Regions from separate parts of the Homo sapiens genome. Here regions 2 and 3 are each linked to region 1. The links are contacts of gene promoters, found by promoter capture Hi-C in human tissues and cell types (Jung and others, 2019). All regions are on one chromosome and are shown on one strand. The core of a region is centred on a gene start or on the middle of the fragment in contact, and the rest is flanking DNA. Distances in the headings are between cores, read along the strand shown.

Region 1 (3,245 bases), core at 680-3,179:
GGAGGTGTTCAATAAATATTATCATCTTTTCCTTTCTAGAGGTGTTTTAGGCAATCACTAACTACCACCTTATTCCTAAGAACTTTTTAAGGACAGTGTCCATTTCTTTCTTTTATTCAACACATTTATTGATTACTAAATATGTGAGGGGACCTGCTTTGGACATGAACAGTAATAAACAAACTCCCTGTTCTAAACAGTTTCATAATTTAGATCAAAGATAAACTATCAGCCTGGGATTGCACCTGGCCTATTACTTGTTTTGTTTGGCTAGCACTTTGAATCAATTTTAAATTTGAATCAATTTTAAAATTGAAATAGCCCACAATGTCCTTTTAGGGACCAAAATACTTGACAACACTGAGCCCAATTCCAGTTGAAGAGCAACTGACTAGCGCTGAGCAGCCCTGATGGTTTCAGCCAGGTCTGTTCTATCCAAGCGGAGTTCCCCCACCAGACCTTATGGTCTCTAATTGAAACACTTTCAGTTGCCATTTATCATAGCATTTGCTCTTTTGTTTTAAAATATTTCTCTATAATCAGGCTTCTATCGAAAGCAGGAAAACTACAGGGCGACTTGGGACTGCATGCTTGACGGGAAAAAAAAGCAGCATTAATTCTCAGTGGGAGGCTGGGCGCCGTGGCTCATGCCTGTAATCTCAGCACTTTGCAAGGCCGAGGGAGAATCACTTGAGCCCTGGAGTTCGAGACCAGCCTGGGCAACATGGTGAAACCCTGTCTCTACGAAAAATACAAAAAATTAGCTGGGTGTGATGGAACGCACCTGTAGCCCCAGCTATTTGGGGCTGAGGTGGGAGGACCACCTGAGCCAGGGAGGTCGAGGCTACAGTGAGCCGAGACCGTGCCGCTGCACTCCAGCCTGGGGGACGGAGTGAGACCCTGTCAAGAAATTTTAAAAATTAAAAAATAAATAAAATCAGTGGGAGTGAGAATTTCTACGAACTTAATATAAAAATAACTTAAAAACAACTTAAAACACCATTGCGCCGGGCGCGGTGACTGGCGCCTGTAATCCCTGCACTTTGGGAGACCGAGGCGGGCGGATCACGAGGTCAGGAGATCGAGACCATCTTGGCTAACACGGTGAAACCCTGTCTCTACTAAAAATACAAAAAAATTAGCCGGGCGTGGTGGCGGGCGTCTGTAGTCCCAGCTACTAAGGAGGCTGAGGTAGGAGAATGGCGTGAACCCGGGAGGCGGAGCTTGCAGTGAGCCGAAATCGGCGCCACTGCACTCCAACCTGGGCGACAGAGTGAGACTGTCTCAAAAAAAAAAAAAAAGAAACGCCATTGCAAAACCTTGAGAATGGTTTTAACTGGAAAAAATGTATGATGAACAATTTAACTGAAAAATAAATACAATTTTAACACGGTTTGTTTTTGAAAGCGAATGTGACGTTGCATTCTTCATACAGTGAAAAGGCTGCTTCTCGCCCTTTCGTTACCTGCCCAGTCCGAATTGACTCCTGAGACCTAATCAGGCGCATCTCTATATGGCCAGCATTATCCCTGGGCTGCCTAAATAGTTCGCGTTAAACACAAACAACAACAATAAAATCTAAATAACACTCAGTCTTAGTACCATTATTACAAAAGCGTGAGGGGCGAAAAGATTAAAAATGAACATCAACTTCGGTAGAGATGGAAAAAGACTGCCCACTCCATTCCAGGAAAGAAAAAAGAAAGTGGGAGAATCTGATCACGACGGGCTGAGGTCCTGTGAGAGCAAAGCAGATTCCAAACCGCTTAGGGTTGCTAAATCAAGTGGTAAAACGTGGCCCCTTGCGGCGCGGTGAGATTAACGGACCCGGCGGGCCCAGAGCCTGCCTCGGGTCCTAAAGGGATCCGCCCCGCCGAGTCAGCCACGCCTTCGTCTCCCACGCGCTGCGCCCGGCCGCGCCGTCACCCAGCAGCGGCGCAGGGCACCATGGGAAACGGACGGAAGCTCCATTGAGCCAAATAAGTTGGTGAGAAGGTTCCCGACGCGGCGATGGCGAGAAGCAGAGAAATGGACCTGGGGAGGGGCGTGCGGGGTGCGGTAGGGTTGGATGGAAGCCTTGGCGGGCCAAAACCACTGCGGCTTCAAAATCCGGATGCGCCGGTATTTGAGGCGGAGGCGGGGCTGTGGGGGGAGGAGGGAGGCTATGGCGCTCAGAGCACTGTGGGACACTGTAGGCCACGTGGGGCGGAACGGAAACCTCGCAGGGTCAGACCGTAGCGACGCGGGAAGTCCGGACGCAGTAGCTCCCTGAAGCGGAGGCGAAGGGGAGTTTAAGCCCCAGCGGCGGCAATGGCGGAGAGGCCCGAGGACCTAAACCTGCCCAATGCCGTGATCACCAGGATCATCAAGGAGGCGGTGAGCAGCTCGGGGGGGGCGGACGAACGGGCAGGAGGGAAGCAGGTGCTGGAACGGCAGCTTTGCTCACCCCCGGTCTCCTCGCAGCTCCCGGACGGTGTCAACATCTCCAAGGAGGCCCGGAGCGCCATCTCCCGCGCCGCCAGCGTCTTCGTGCTGTACGCCACATCCTGGTGAGCGGGACAGAGGCATAAGGGAGGCGCGGGGATACCTGGCTGGGAGTTGCTGGCTGGGAGCCTACAAACCCCAACGATTGTGTTCTCCCTCGGTGGGGACATGTTCACAGTCCTCTGCCAGTTTTTACAAGTTCTGAAGCAAAATAACACAACAAAATCACTTTGCTTTAGCTTTTTTGTGCAGAGAAGGGAAGGACTTATCCCTGTCACACCAAAATCCATACATGTAAGAGGCAGGCTTTCCCGTTCCACCTCTGGGTGCTCCTTTTCCCACTCACGCCTTACAAACAAGAGGGAGTCTGACAGCCTTTCTCTTCTCTCAGTGCTAACAACTTTGCAATGAAAGGAAAGCGGAAGACGCTGAATGCCAGTGATGTGCTCTCAGCCATGGAAGAGATGGAGTTCCAGCGGTTCGTTACCCCATTGAAAGAAGCTCTGGAAGGTAACGAGCCTCTTGTCTTCTAAACCACATAGAAGATGGTCATCCTGTGTGACCTGTTCACCAGGCCCTGAGCCTTCTCAGCGCGGGTCCCTTTAAGTCCAGTAAGCCAGCACTTGATGTGACTCGACCCAGTTCGGTGGGCACCACCTCAGATCTGTTTTGTAATGCTGAGCAAGTTATTTTTCCTTCTCTGCCTCCGTTTTTGTTTTTGTCTTGCTTTTCTTGTTTTTGTTTTTTTTTTTTTTTTTTTG
Region 2 (2,987 bases), core at 360-2,859, 210 kb after region 1:
CAAGTTGGGCCTACGGTAAAAAATTACTTGACATGTGAAGAGGTGGGAAAATGTAACTAATAATCAAGGGAACAAATAAACTAGGAGCAGACTCACAAATAACCTAGATATTGCAGTTAACATACAAGGCACTTAAAACAACTAGGAATAATATCTTAAAGAAAATAGAGGAAAAGTACAAAAGGGATGAAAAGATGGAGAATTTAAAAAGTTAGAATCTATAAGAATAATCACATGGCAGTCTAGATTTGAAAAATACAATTTCTGAAACTAAGAACATATTGGATGGGTTTAACAGAGTCAGAATACAGCAGGAGACAGAATTAGTGACTTCGAAGGCAGTAACATAGAAAATATTCAGACTGAAGCACAGAGAGAAGAAATAATAGAAAGAGACCAGGGCAAAGATTGATGTGGGACATGGTCTAACGTCCATGTAATTGGAATCCAAAGACAGTAGAATTATATCTTTAAAGTACTGAAAGGAAAACAAAACCCTGCCTATTACAGAATTCTATAGCAACAAAAATATCCTTCAAAAATGAAGGCAAAATAAATTTTCAGCCAAACAAAAGTGAGAGAATTCATTGTAGTAGATTTGCACTACAAGGAACATTAAAGGACATTCTTTAAGTTGAGGGAAACGAATGTCTGTGTCTTTCAAAAGACATGGAGAGGCTGGGCGCGGTGGCTTACGCCTGCAATCCCAGCACTTTGGAAAGCCAAGGCTGAGGTCGGGAGTTCAAGGCCAGCCTGACCAACATGGAGAAACCCCGTGTCTACTAAAAATACAAAAAAATTAGCCAGGTGTGATGGCACATGCCTGTAATCCCAGCTACTTGGGAGGCTGGGGCAGGAGAATTGCTTGAACCTGGGAGGTGGAGGTTGCGGTAAGCTGAGATCATGCCATTGCACTCCAGCCTGGGCAACAAGAGTGAAACGTCATCTCAAAAAAAAATGACGTGGAGAATGTTCATAGAAGTATCATTCATAATAGCCTCTAGCTGGAAACAACTCAAATGTTCATAAACAGGAGAATGAATGAAGAGTTTATGGTATATTCACATAATAGAATACTACATGACAATAAAAGAGAATAAAGTCCTGGAACATGAAGTATCAAGGCTTACTCTTATAGATACGGTGAGTGAAAGAAGCAAGACAAAAGAGTATACTCTGTATAATCCTATTTATACAAATTTAAGAATAGCAAAATTGTCTGGGTGCGGTGGCTCACACCTGTAATCTCAGCACTTTGGGAGGCCAAGGTGGGCGGATCACCTGAGGTCAGGAGTTCAAGACCAGCCTGGCCAACATGGTGAAACCTGGTCTCTACTAAAAATACAAAATTAGTAGGGTGTGGTGGCGTGCACCTGTAGTCTCAGCTGCTCGGGAGCCTGAGGCAGGAGAATTGCTTGAACCCGGGAGGCAGTGGTTGCAGTGAGCCGAGATTGCGCCACTGCACTCCAGCCTGGGCGACAGAGAGACTCTGTCTCAAAAAGAAAAAAAAAAAAAGCAAAATTAATCAGCGACAGAAGTCAGAATATTGGTTATCTCAGGGTGGGGATTATTGACTAGGAAGGGCATGAGGGAGCTTCCTGTGGTGTGGGAAATGCTCTGCTATTTTTTAAATCTGGTTGATGGTCACGTGGGCACATATATGTATAATGAACATGTATTTTATGTTTTTCATCAATTTAAAAACAATTTGTATTTTCTTTTACACAACCAGCCACTCTTAGTCACCCCTTGTATAAATGAAAACACCAACAAAATGAAGACATTGCCAATTACAGTTAAACAGTAAGACCAAAATGAGAAGAGATTAATGTGGATAGTGAGAAGATAAAATTTAAAGTTGAAGCCTTAAAGGATGAATAGATTTTGAGTTTAGTATGAAGCACAACCTTTGATACTTATTGCTGATTTTATATTGCTGATTTTATATTGCCTTTTAACTTCTGCTGTCTCTCTTTTTTTTTTTCTATCTGTCGTTGCTTGTCTACAGTATAGGATTCTTCTTTATATCAGTCAACAACAGCCAGTTACGGTTGCTAGGATTCATGTGAACTTTGAGCTAATGGTAAGACTTCATCATATTGGAATCATTAGCTCCTTCGGGATAGGTTTACAGGAGAGACTGGTCTGATTGTACCTAATAGAAATTAGATCCACTGGTTCAGCCCTGGGTGTCCTTGTGAGTATCTAACAGAACCTTTCAGAAAGGTCTCTTGGCTCCTTCTAGGAATGTGGACTGAAGGGTGAATCGTAGAGGGTGAGAGGGAAGAAGAAAGATCTCTGATAGTTCCCTTTGGGTCCACCTGAGTCAAGACCCTACTCTATGAGCTTAGGCCGTCATGTTTATCTGGTATAATACTGCTTGTGGATGAATTTAACATTTCTCCTTTCTCCAGGTTCGGCCCAATAACTATAGCACCTTTTATGATGACCAGAGACAGAACTGGTCCATCATGTTTGAGTCGGAAAAGGCTGCTGTGGAGTTCAATAAGCAGGTGATAACATCTTACTCTCCCTGTGAAAAGCCAAAATACTTGTTTGGATTTCCCTTAATTTTAGGGAAACATATAGAAAACCCATAATCTGCTGTGTTTTGTTAGTGACTAGCATAAAAAACCCACTAAATTTGCCACTTCGGCCTATTGTATGATTTCAGGAAAATAATAGGAATACTTACTGAAACTGCTTGACAATTTAGCCTTTTTCTTTTTTAACAGAGAAAGACTAAATGTAATCTTATTATATTAAAAAATTTTCTACTACATAAATTATCTTAAGGAATAAATAAAACTATCTTTAAAAAATAGTGTTTTCAAAGAATGTTTTAGGCTGGGTGTGGTGGTTCATGCCACGCTTGTAATCCCAGCATTTTGGGAGGCCGAGGCAGGTGGATCACTTGAGCCTAGGAGTTCAAGATCAGCCTGGGCAACATAGTGAAACCCCATCTGTACAAGAAAAGAAAGAAAGAG
Region 3 (3,144 bases), core at 618-3,117, 230 kb after region 1:
TTGGCTTCAAAATCTTTGGTACTTATGATTGGCTTCAAATGCCTGGAATAGTTGATGTGTTGTTCTAACTCATGACTCAGTGGAAGTTTAAAAAAGAAATGCTTCCTGGTGTGGTTTCTTCTTTCCTAGAAGATGGATTGCAACTCTTCAGCCTCACACTCAAGGCCCATCCTGCTTGGCTTGTCTCCCGTTATATTGTCCAGTTCATCCTGGCCCTGACCATGCCAGCAAGCCTGCTGGCTGCTCTTCAGCTCATCCTGTAGTTCTTGTCTTGCTTCTTATCCATGCTATTCTCTGGACTTGACATGCCCACCATTACCAATATTCGCTTTTAGTCCTCTTCAAAATCTGCCTCTTTCAGAAGCTTTCCTAGTTTTCTCTAGAACATTTGATCTCTTTAAAAAAAAATCCTTTATCTCATAGTGCATTATTATAACCCTTATCACAGTTTGATAAGCATGGTGTTTTGCTCATCTTTGTAAAGTCCTCTCCTCCATATTAGTGTTAGTTCAGTGCCTGGCAAGACATGGTGATTGGATAGAAGATTTGTGAAGACCAGCAGGTTGATTAATCTACCTTGGTTTATGGAAACAAATATGGAAGGCAGACATGGGACTAGTGGGCAGGGGGTAGCTGGAGCAGCAGCAGAGTTGGGTGGAAGCAAAGTTCATTTGCCTAATAGAGAACTAAAAAACAATGATGTCAATTGGTAAGGTGCTACCTTGAAGATACATCCCTTCCCTTTTATTTTTTTAAAAATTTTTTATATTTTGTAGAGACAGGAGTCTTACTATGTTGACCAGGCTGGTTGTGAACTCTTGACCTCAAGCCATCCTTCCGCCCTGTTCTCCCAAAGCGTTGGGATTAACAGGCATTGGCCATTGCTCCCAGCCCATCTCTTCCCTTTTAGAGCATGACTGGGCCCACATGAGGCAAATGTGTTAGACAGTCTTAGATTTGAATGTTGTTCAAATGTCTCATTTCTGCTTTTGTGGTGCCTTATGACAATTACCTCAAGAGTCATAAGAGTCTCAAAAGTTTCCCAAACAAATTTTATTTATTTCAAAGAGCTTTATTTGAGAAGGGATGCTTTGAAAGCAAATTCTTGGTAGAATGTCCCAGCTACCAAGAAAGTTGAGACTATCTTACTCAAGCAGTGAGAAAGAACCTGGACTAATACTAAACAATGATTGGTCCAGTGTGTTAAGATGGTGGCCAAAATGGACTTATGAGAGTTATCTGTTTCAAAGGTCATTTCTGACTGCTGGGAACATGTCCTTTCCATTTCGTATGTGGAGAAGGTGACATGTATACACAGAGATGACTTTCTATGGGATAAATATGGGTTGATGAGGGAGTCAGCTGACGGCTTGACAAATCTTATTGCTGGTCAGTGAGGTGATGTTGAAAGAAGTGAGCAGAGGCTGCTTGTGTGGTAGGATTGGGAAATCAAAGCACGCGGCTTTGAAAGAGCCACTGGGGCCAGGCGCAGGGGCTCACGCCTGTAATCCTAGCACTCTGGGAGGCTGAGGCAGGAGGACTGCTTGAGCCCAGGAGATGGAGGCTATAGTGAGCTATGATCACACCACTGCACTCCAGCCTGAGTGATGGAGCAAGGCTTTGTCTCCAAAAAATAATTTAAAAAAAGAGCTGCTGGGATAACACATAGCCCATTACAGCTTTGGTTCTGTAGCGAAGTCTCTCTGCTCCTGTATCCCAGAGCTCCAAGAAACCTCTGAGCAAGCACAGTCCAAATTCAAAAGTGAAAAGCAGAACCGGAAACAACTGGAACTCAAGGTGACATCCCTGGAGGAGGAACTGACTGACCTTCGAGTTGAGAAGGAGTCCTTGGAAAAGGTAAGCTCTACAACCCAGTTGGCCAGAATTAGCTGTTTAATAAACATTTTTATTTTCCTTTTACAAATTACAATAGTATGTGCTTATTGTAACAAATACAAATAATATAGAAAAGTGTAAAATTAAAAAAAAATTTTCCCCGCTCTAATCTCATACATTGAAGGTGACAGTTATAAAGTGTATGATCCTTCCAGATTGTTTTCTGTATGTAGAAAACATACATTCACACTCTCACACACATACATGTATGTATACTGACAACTTTTTTTACAGTAGTGGTATCACGTTTAATGTTTTTTAGGAAAATGTCATGGACTTGTACTACATAAGAAGGAGATCTTTCTCACTCGTAGTTAACTGCTGCATAGTAGCCTACTATGAGGCTGTACCATAATTTGTTTAATGATTTGCCTATCGATGGATATTTATGTTTTTATTTTTTCATTATTTTAAGCACTGCTTCTATGGACATTCTCATATTATATAACTGTTTTTGCAAATTTGTTTGAGCATTCCTACGTGATGGATTGCATGAGTAAGAATCATGGGATCAAAGGGAAGGCTACATATTTGAATTTTTATAAATATTACCAGGTTATCCTCAAAGAATAGTGCTTACACTTTCAGCAGTATGTGAGTGAGCCCATTTGTCACATTCTTCCCCACTCTACATATATCACTTTTTCTAATCTTCATTAGTCTGACAGGTGAAATATGTTATCTTGTTTTAATGTGTATTTTTATTAGTAGTAAAGCTTTCATATATTTAATACCTATTTGTATTTCTTATGTACATTCTCTCTTTAGTGTCCTTTATCCTTTTTCCTATTATTAGTTTGATTTGTAAACCCTTTTAAGGGTATCAATCCTTTGTCAGTCATAGATGTTGTAAATATTTTTCTAGCTTGCTGTCTTTTAACTTTATTTATAGTATCTTTTGTTGGTTAAAATTTTAATATCAGGAAATACTAAGTGAACAAAGTGAGAACATTTCTATCTTTTTGTCTGTTCTGGAATCGTTTAAATATGAAAATAATAAACTGCTCCTGAGGCTTCAGTAAATCTCATTAGGTAAAGCTGTTTTGGCCCAGTGCCTTTTAAGAGGGTAAATCTTGGTCTGCAATTGCATTTTTTTCCAGGATTTTTTCCATTTTATTTATTTATTTTTAACCAATTCCTTCTAACCTCTTGGCTGTTTTCAGTTTGTCATTACTATAGATACTACTACAGTGACCATCCTTGTAACACACTCTTTATGACTATGACTTATTGAATCCTTAATTACAA

Evidence for each region. Contacts are between HindIII fragments. The study calls those that stand out against the background at their distance.
Region 2: a contact is called between a fragment that was not itself captured here and the fragment with the promoter of POLE3 in region 1, in 1 of the 25 tissues and cell types used here (lymphoblastoid cells).
Region 3: a contact is called between a fragment that was not itself captured here and the fragment with the promoter of POLE3 in region 1, in 1 of the 25 tissues and cell types used here (lymphoblastoid cells).

What each region holds. Positions count from the first base shown.
Region 1 is chr9:113,409,359-113,412,603 of GRCh38, reverse strand. It overlaps POLE3 (DNA polymerase epsilon 3, accessory subunit), which reads left to right and starts at 1,929. Exons shown (of 5, transcript NM_017443.5): 1 at 1,929-1,987; 2 at 2,196-2,376; 3 at 2,464-2,549; 4 at 2,876-2,994. The coding sequence starts at 2,311. It overlaps C9orf43 (chromosome 9 open reading frame 43), which reads right to left and starts at 1,857. Exons shown (of 14, transcript NM_001278629.2): 1 at 1,603-1,857. RefSeq lists enhancers at 330-1,229, 1,848-2,037, 2,278-2,557, 2,130-3,029, 1,932-3,131. The HindIII fragment of the contact is 6,520 bases long and covers 1-3,245 here.
Region 2 is chr9:113,202,057-113,205,043 of GRCh38, reverse strand. It overlaps FKBP15 (FKBP prolyl isomerase family member 15), which reads left to right. Exons shown (of 28, transcript NM_015258.2): 5 at 2,009-2,083; 6 at 2,415-2,513. Among named protein-coding and RNA genes, the nearest start is that of FKBP15, 18 kb to the left of the region's middle. The HindIII fragment of the contact is 9,656 bases long and covers 1-2,987 here.
Region 3 is chr9:113,175,250-113,178,393 of GRCh38, reverse strand. It overlaps FKBP15 (FKBP prolyl isomerase family member 15), which reads left to right. Exons shown (of 28, transcript NM_015258.2): 21 at 1,721-1,857. Among named protein-coding and RNA genes, the nearest start is that of SLC31A2, 26 kb to the right of the region's middle. The HindIII fragment of the contact is 4,829 bases long and covers 1-3,144 here.